Regions from separate parts of the Homo sapiens genome. Here region 1 is linked to region 2. The links are contacts of gene promoters, found by promoter capture Hi-C in blood cells and fetal thymus (Javierre and others, 2016). All regions are on one chromosome and are shown on one strand. Each heading gives the region's core, a stretch centred on a gene start or on the middle of the fragment in contact. The rest is flanking DNA. Distances are from core to core; before and after follow the strand shown.

What was found. The method cuts DNA at HindIII sites, captures the fragments that hold promoters and counts their contacts. A CHiCAGO score of 5 or more calls a contact.
Region 1: a contact is called between the fragment with the promoter of DHX37 here and the fragment with the promoter of FKBP4 in region 2, in 1 of 17 cell types (total CD4 T cells). The highest score is 8.1, in total CD4 T cells.

The regions. Positions count from the first base shown.
Region 1 is chr12:124,987,122-124,991,128 of GRCh38, reverse strand. DHX37 (DEAH-box helicase 37) reads left to right here and starts at 1,998. Exons shown (of 27, transcript NM_032656.4): 1 at 1,998-2,212. The coding sequence starts at 2,107. RefSeq lists a silencer at 2,085-2,294 and an enhancer at 3,535-4,007. The HindIII fragment of the contact is 16,586 bases long and covers 1-4,007 here.
Region 2 is chr12:2,792,248-2,796,370 of GRCh38, reverse strand. It overlaps FKBP4 (FKBP prolyl isomerase 4), which reads right to left and starts at 1,401. Exons shown (of 10, transcript NM_002014.4): 1 at 1,127-1,401. The coding sequence starts at 1,231. The region is part of intron 2 of ITFG2-AS1 (ITFG2 antisense RNA 1); the gene reads left to right. RefSeq lists silencers at 353-762, 1,113-1,172, 1,203-1,582 and enhancers at 1,432-1,976, 1,977-2,522. The HindIII fragment of the contact is 2,886 bases long and covers 1-2,807 here.

The DNA of each region.
Region 1 (4,007 bases), core at 749-3,248, about 120 Mb before region 2:
TGTTCAACTTTATATTTGTGAGATCCATCCATGCTGTTATGTATCTGCCTTCTTCTTGCTGTCTAGAATGGTCTATACCTTCTGGAAGGTAATTCACTGATATATTATATTTTAGAAGGAAATATAGGCAAGTGTACTACTACCTACTTAACATTTTTTAAACGTTTCTTAAACTTTTAATTTATTTAAATAAACATATTTAAAGAAGAAACTTTAGATCACTATCATCCTGAGCAACAAAATCCATAAAAACACAGATTTGAGCCTGGGTGCAGTGGCTCAGGCCCGTAATCTCATCATTTTGAGAGGCCAAGGTGGGCCGATCACTTGATGTCAGGAGTTTGAGACCATCCTGGCCAACATGGTGAGACCCCATCTCTACTAAAAATACAAAAATTAGATGGGCATCTTGGTGGGTGCCTGTAATCCCAGCTACTTGGAAGGCTGAGACAGGAGAATCGCTTGAACCCGAGAGGTGGAGGTTGCAGTGAGCCGAGACTGCTCCACTACACTCCAGCCTGGGCGTCAGAGGGAGAGTTCTGTCTCAAAAAAACAAAAACAAGCAAACAAACAAAAAACCCCATAGATTTGATACGCTAATTATGATTTTTTTAAACGTCATTCATTAAGGCCTTCACAGTGGCTTATGCCTGTAATTCCGGCACTTTGGGAGGCCGAGACAAACGGATCCCTTGAGCCCAGAATTTTGAGACCAGTCTAAGCAACATAGGGAGACACCATCTCTACAAAAAAATAGAAAAATTAGCCCGTCGTGGTGGTGTGTGCCTGTAGTCATAACTACTCAGGAGGCTGAGGTGGGAGGACAGGTCAAGGCTGCAGCGAGTGGTGATTGCACCACTGCACTCTGGCCTGGCCCACAGGGCGAGATCTCATCTCTTAAAAAAAAAAAAAAAAAAGTCGGGCGCGGTGGCTCATGCCTGTAATCCCAGCACTTTGGGAGGCCCAGGCAGGCAGATCACGAGGTCAGGAGTTTGAGACCAGCCTGGCCAACATGGTGAAACTCCGTCTCTACTAAAATACAAAAACTAGCTGGGGGTGGTGGCGGGCACCTGTAGTCCCAGCTACTCGGAAGGCTGAGGCAGGAGAATCGTTTAAACCCGGGAGGCAGAGGTTGCAGTGAGCCGAGATTGCTCCACTACACTCCAGCCTGGGCAACAAAGCCAGACCTTGTCTCAATAATAATAATAATGCATTGTTTCCCAGTGTGTTACAATGTGATGCGGTAATGGGAATTTAAAGTTATGTAATAGACAACTTTATTTTTTTTTTTTTGAGACAGAGTCTAGCTCTGTTGCCCAGGCTGAAGTGCAGTGGTGCAGTCTCGGCTCACTGCAACGTCCACCTCCCGGGTTCAATCAATTCTCTGCCTCAGCCTCCCAAGTAGCTGGGATTACAGACGCCTGCCACCAGGCCTAGCTAAATTTTTTTTGTATTTTTGGTAGAGACGGGGGTTTCACCATCTTGGCCAGGCTGGTCTTGAAATCCTGACCTCGTGATCCGCCCGCCTCGGCCTCCAAAAGTGCTGGGATTACAGGCGTGAGCCACCGCGCCCGTAGAGGCCTCCTTTTAGATCTTCCATCTATCCCTGTGATGGAAATATTTGGTGCCTTTTTAAAAGTACACGACTAATACGTTTCTTGTAGGAATATCAGAAAATACAGATGCGCAAACCAGGGTTGGGGGGAAGAAGTTTGGAGTACTGGGGGCGGGGTATATTTTAAAAGGTGGCAAAACACTTCCACTCCCAAGAAGCCAAATTAGTATCAGTAGATATAATTCATATTTAAACCCAGACTACCCCAAGCGAGAACAGCCCAGGACTTAAACTCCGGCCTCCGCTGGGACCTCAGGCCCCGCCTACTTCTCTAAATAGTCCCGCCCCCTGCCCGGCCCGGCTCCGCCTCTCCTCTTCGCTGGGTTTCTCTTGCAACCCCGCCCCTCAGCGGCAAAGTCAGTTACAGTTCTCGCGATAACACAACCCGGAAGTCTCACGGCCGGAGTTGGTGGTCTGGGAACCCACGTGGGCTGGGTTTCGGATTGCTCTGCTGGTCCGGCCGCTGGAGCGCCCACCCTGGCCTAGTCGCCATGGGGAAGCTGCGCCGGCGCTACAACATCAAGGGGCGCCAGCAGGCGGGCCCCGGACCCTCGAAGGGCCCCCCCGAGCCGCCCCCCGTGCAGCTGGAACTGGAGGGTAAGACATCCCCGGACCGGGGCTGGATTTCGGAGATTTCCCAGGGCGGCCTGTGCCCTGCCTTCAGGACTCTCGGGTGGGGATCCCAGAGGGGTGGGATGGATCATCTGGAATGGGGGAATGGGTCCCCCCATTCCAGATGATCCAAAGGAGAGGGGCTTAGTGACAGCCTAGTTTTAACAGTGTATATGGAATACCCGGGATTTCTCTCGCCCTCAAATAGTAACATGGAGAATTTGGCAAAAAAAACAGGAGTAGTTCCATCCCTTCCCATGACTTCGATTATAATCTCTTTATAATCTCCAGCGACCCCCAAATGTGTATTTTCAGCCCAGTCTTGTCTGCTCAGCTCCAGGCTGGCTGACATTTCTCTCAGACCCCTTTTTAGGAGTAGCCCTTATTACATGCCAGGCACTATTCTAGGCACTGGAGACATAGCAGAAAGGGAGATTTTTAGAAAATCCCTGAGTTTACCTGCTGTATAGGAGGAGACAGGCAAAGAATAAACATATAGAAATTTATGCGGCTATAGTGAGCAGATAAAACAGAAGAGGCCATTGGGTGGGTTGCAGCATCCCATAGAGTTGCTGGAGAAGACATCACTCTGTTAGAGTCAAGATCTGAAGGAGACCTGAGTGGCTGCCTGGAGATGAGAGAAAAAACAGGGGGCCAGGGCAGGTCGGGCCTGGACTGCAGTCTTGGCGAGGACTGGGGCTTTTTCTCTACGGGAGAGGGCAGCCATGGGAGCATTTAGAGCAGAGGAGGCGTGGTGGTGGGCACCTGTAGTCCCAGCTACTTGGGAGGCTGAGGCAGGAGAATGGCTTGAACCCAGGATACGGAGGTTGCAGTGAGCCAAGATCGCACCACTGTACTCTAGCCTGGGTGAGAGAGCGAGACTCCATCTCAAAAAAAAAAAAAAAAAAAAAAAAGTTCCACAGACAGGCTGGGAGTTGAGGCAGATCCCCTAACATCTCTGTGCCTTCGTTTTCACATCTGCAGAATGGGACCAGTAGCACACGTTGAGCAGCCTTAATCCAAAATACTCCAAAATTCAAAAGTTTTTGAGTGTCAACATGACACTTAAGGAAATGCTCATTGGAGCATTCCAGATTTCAAATTTTTAGATTAGGGATGCTCAACCAGTGAATAGAATACAGATGTTCCTAAAGCTAAAACAGGTCTGGTTCCTAGCATTTCTGGAAAGGGATATTTAACCTGTAGTAGCCGTCTTACCTCCTATCAGAGTTTTGGAGATGGTAATTTGGGAAAATATGTTGCTTTGAAAAGTAAAGAAAGGTTACAGAGGTGGGGTGTGTCCCAGGACAGGTGACAACCGTTATGATGGCAGTGACAATTCAGGATGGCACCTCAAAGACAGCCGTAGACACTGGGCTGACACTTGGAACTGGACCACCTGAGCAGAGGGGCTGAGGTCTCTCAGACCCAGAGATTTGGGGAAAGTTGTTTCTCACATCAGAACAGGACATTTCCATGTATCCCTGCCTTTCTCAGGGGCCAGAGGAATCTCATAAGAACATGACTCAGATTACCTTCTTTTATTTATTTATTTATTTGAGATGGAGCCTTGCTCTGTCGCCTAGGCTGGAGTGCAGTGGCGTGATCTCTGCTCACTGCAACCTCCACCTCCCGGGTTCAAGCAGTTCTCGTGCCTCAGCCTCCTGTGTAGCTGGGATTATAGGTGCATGCCATCACACCTGGCTAGTTTTTGTATTTTTTGTAGAGACGGGATTTTGCCATGTTGGCCAGGCTGGTCCCCAACTCCTGGCCTCAGGTG
Region 2 (4,123 bases), core at 152-2,651:
TCCTGGAATAACAATCTCGTAGAAAACGGCAGGACGCTGGAGCGAGAAGGGGAAGTCACATGCCACAGGAGAGCCGCTGGAGCAGACGCTTGAGGTCCCCAATAATCTGGTGCAAAGACAGATGCACTTCTGGACCAGGTAAAGGCCCCCTGAGGTGGGTGCCGCACACGCGGAGCTCAGCGGTGGGAAGCCAGGATGAGGACGCAGCAGCGGATGGGGAGAAGGCATAAGACGCAGGCTGGGAATTCACCATCTCTGATTCTCCCTGGAACCTGCTCCGACCCAAGGCAGGTTGTCCTGGCCCAGGTCAAGATGCCCTCCCCGCAGCTCCCCAGGCTATTTGTAGTCGAGCGGTCACTCGGCGGCAGGCTCCACAGCAGAGCGCCTCCTCCCCGCCCCACACCCCGCAGCCCTGGCTCCGGGAGGCGGCGGAGGGGGGAGGGGACTACAGCTCCCGGCATGCCCCGCGCCCGGCCTCCCCGGGGCCGAGGGAGGGGGCGCCGCGCGGCGAGTGGGGACCTCGCTGGGTCCCGGCGTCGGCAGGGGACCCCGGGAGGGCGCCGGAACCCTGTCGCGCCTGCGTCGCACAAAGGCCGAAGGGCCAGGAAAGCACTGTGGGGAGTCGCTCCCCGTCCTGGCCCGTGTTCCACCGCCCGGGTGGGCGAGCCCTGGCACCGCCACCAACGAGGCGGCCCGCGGCTGGCAGCTCCGCTGGGGCCGCGAGGTCGGGGGCGGCGTGGCGTGGGAGGCCCGGCCTGGCCCCGGGCTGCGGCTCGGGTGCCCGCGGCGGTCGCCTCGCCCCGCCCCTCTCCGCCGCCCCGCGCGCGCCGGGGTGGGCACTGCAATCCCGACCCCCTGCCCGGGCCCGGGCGCTGCCGGCTGGGGAGCCTGGGGCCTCGGCCCGCGCACCTAGGCCGCCCCCCTGCCGAGCGCATGGCCGGCCTCGGTGCCTTAAACGACGCAGCCCGGTCCGGGACGGCGATGCCACCGGCCCCCGGCGGGACGGCCGCGAGGCTGCAAAGGCGGCCGCCTCGACCCGTGCCCGGCCGCGGGCTCCGGGCGCGGCGGAAGGGCGGCCCGCGGGGCCCCGGGTTCCGACGCCTCCGCAGGCCCCGCCGCCCCTCACCTTCAGCACGCCTTCGTCCTGTTTGGGGCTGATGTCCACTCCCTCCATGGGCAGCGGCGCCGACTGCGCCCCGCTCTCGGTCGCCTTCATCTCCTCGGCTGTCATCTCCGCGCGGCGCGCCGTTTATCCGGGAGCTGGTGCCGGCGCGAGCGCACTCTGGGCCGCGGGCGGGGGCGCTACCTGCGGGGCGTGCGGGAGGCCGGGCGCGGCGGCACTGACTGCGGACCGCGAGGAGGCTTGAGCACCTCTGCACGCGGCGCGAGAGCTGGGGTAGGTGGGTCAGGAGCGGCTCGGGGAGCGATTGGTCCCGCCCCGCCGCGAGGGAGGGGCTGGGAGGAGCGGGAGCGCAGACAGAGGGGGCGGGGTGCAGAACTTTCTAGAGACGGCGGGACTGAGCCGGTTCGGGCTCAGTGCTGCGGGCGCTTCGGAATTTTTTTTTCTTTTTTTTTTTTTGGTTCTTGCCTCCTTCTGGCTGCCTGCCCCCTCCCCCTTCTCCTGGGACCCTCGGACTCGGGATCTCCCCGGCGGCCTCCCTTGGCCCTTCCTCCCTCCCTCCCATCCCCGCCCGCTTCCCTGTCTAACCGGATTCTTCCAGATTCTTCTCGATCGATCTCCCGACATCACTCCACCAGTCCGCTGCGCCTGCGGCGGGGTGTGGGGAGCGCAGGCTGCGGGATGGCAGTGGCGGCGCCCCCTCCCCGGGACCGGCCGTCACCACGGGCGGCGTGGCCTCTCTGCTATGACCCGCGTAGACCCTTCCCTACTTGGGGGAAAGAGGGCAAGGGCGTGCGCGGGGAGCGGGGAGTGAGTGGACAGCGCTGCCCCGCTGCAGAGAGCCGGGGAAAGCGACCTCGATTTCCCCAGATCCGAGAAGCCCCGGCCAGGCAGCGATGCCTCGCTCAGCGCCTGCAGATGCTGCGAGCAGCGGGGTTGGCAAGGCATGGCCCGCCCAGCTCGGAACTCAGATGGGGCACACACTCAGGGGACCCTTCCCGGCGGTAATAAAACTGCCGTTTCCGCGAATGCTTACAAAGATGGGTTCCCCTCACGAAAAAAGTCACTCGGTTTTCCTAAAGGCCCACAGAAGGAGTATTTTCTTCTCAATGTTTGCTTCCCGAGTGTTTTTCGACAGGCTGTGGAGCGCGCAGGTGCCGGTGTCACCTAAGCTATGGTCGTGGGACCTAGAGAGCCATCTAGAGAGGGGCCTGGTTTTGCTCAGCACCTAACCCCAGTTTAGCATAGTGCCTGGTGAGTGATGTCCCAATAGTTACTGGCTGCATGAATTTTCCTTTTTTAAATTTCTTTTTCCAAGTCTTGGCTGATTTTTTTTTCTTTTTTTTTTTTTTTTGAGACAGGGTCTTGCTCTGTCGCCCAGGCTGCAGTGCGGTGGTGCGATCTTGGCTCTCTGTAGCCGGGACTACAGGCGTCCGCCACCACGCCGACTAATTTTTGTATTTTTAGTAGAGACGGGGTTTCGCCATGTTGCCCAGGCTGGTCTCGAACATCTGGTCTCAAATGATCCGCCCGCCTCGGCCTCCCAAAGTTCTCGGATTACAGGCGTGAGCCACTGCGCCCAGCCTGAATTTTTATTCCAATAATAACTGTATTTTTGGACTTCCCGTTATGTGCCCGGCACTGTGCGATTGGACGCCATTAGTCTCATCAAACTAAATTGAAAGCTTTTTAGAGATGAACTTTCAGCGTCATAATGTGATGATTTATTGTAGTCCCTGCCGACGGAACTTGAAAGGGATGCAGAAGAAAAAGCCCTTCGCTTCAGCAATTTACAGCCCAAATGAGTTGAGCCATAATGAAGACGTCTCTTTAGGTGGCTGGAGACAGCTTCAGAGGATACGGGGCGCTGCCTCTGTAGGGGTTAAATCCACTACTTTTATGCAGAAGTAACAGTGCCAGGGGTCACCCAAACTCCGGGAGACCAGGATGGTGGGTGCTGGCTTCCGGGGTGGCAGTTTACCGCAAACTGTCCTTGGCTTGCACCTACTGATTCTCCACGTGTGGCGGTTTCTTTTCTGCGTCTTTTTCTTCATCGGAAGCGGACAGTGTGGGACCCCCCCTTTAATTCTGTTCGGCACGTACATAGTGGAGCCCTTCAGATTGCCTGCCGTTACATTAACACATAGCCTAATACCCTAGTGGAATGAGCATGTGCTTTGGAGTAAGGGACGTTGGGCGGCCCATGTGTTATGTTAGCTGTTTAAATTGGGGCAGGTTAGTTAATCTTCATGTCTCGATTTCTTGTCTGTAAAATAGAGATAGTAACATTTGTAAAAGAGGGTGATTTAATGGTTAAAAAAGCGGGAATCTGTGTATGGTATCTAGCTCAGTCCTCGCCTCCAACTCCGCAGCTGGTAAATAACGGTCGTTTTAGTGTGATCTGATAGGCGCTGCAGTGGAGATGGGGACAAAGGGCTAAGAAAACAGAGGTCTGTGAGACAGGGAAGGGCAAGAGGGCAAGGTTCCCGGTGAGAAGCTCTGTCCCCACACAGTGAAGGAGGAAACTAGGGGACCACAGGCAGAAACTAGGAGAAACCACAGGAGGAAACTAGGGGTCTTGAATCCTGGAGCAGGAACTTACTGTTTCTCTTAGAATATTTCCTGGTCGTTTATGTGATATTTTTCTGATCATAAAAAGTACATATACTGTAGAAAGTGTGCACGTGTTTTAGTCTCTTTCCTCTATCTCCTCACCCTTTCCCCAGGCCATTTAAGTTAGTATTCTCATTAAAGATGTGTAACCGGTACCACTCGAAATTCTTCCAAAATGTCCCCTTTTTTTGCGGGAGGAAGTCAGCACACTTTTTCTCATCCACCTTATCTGTAGGTGACTCCTGCTGGGATCAGAAACTTTGTTTTCGTCACACTGAGCCTCTTAGAGCTGACCTGGCTCAGATCCCAAACTCTGGGCCCATCATTTACACATGAAGACCCCTTGTTTCTACAGTTCATATCTTGACCTTCCTAGGCTGCCAATGCACT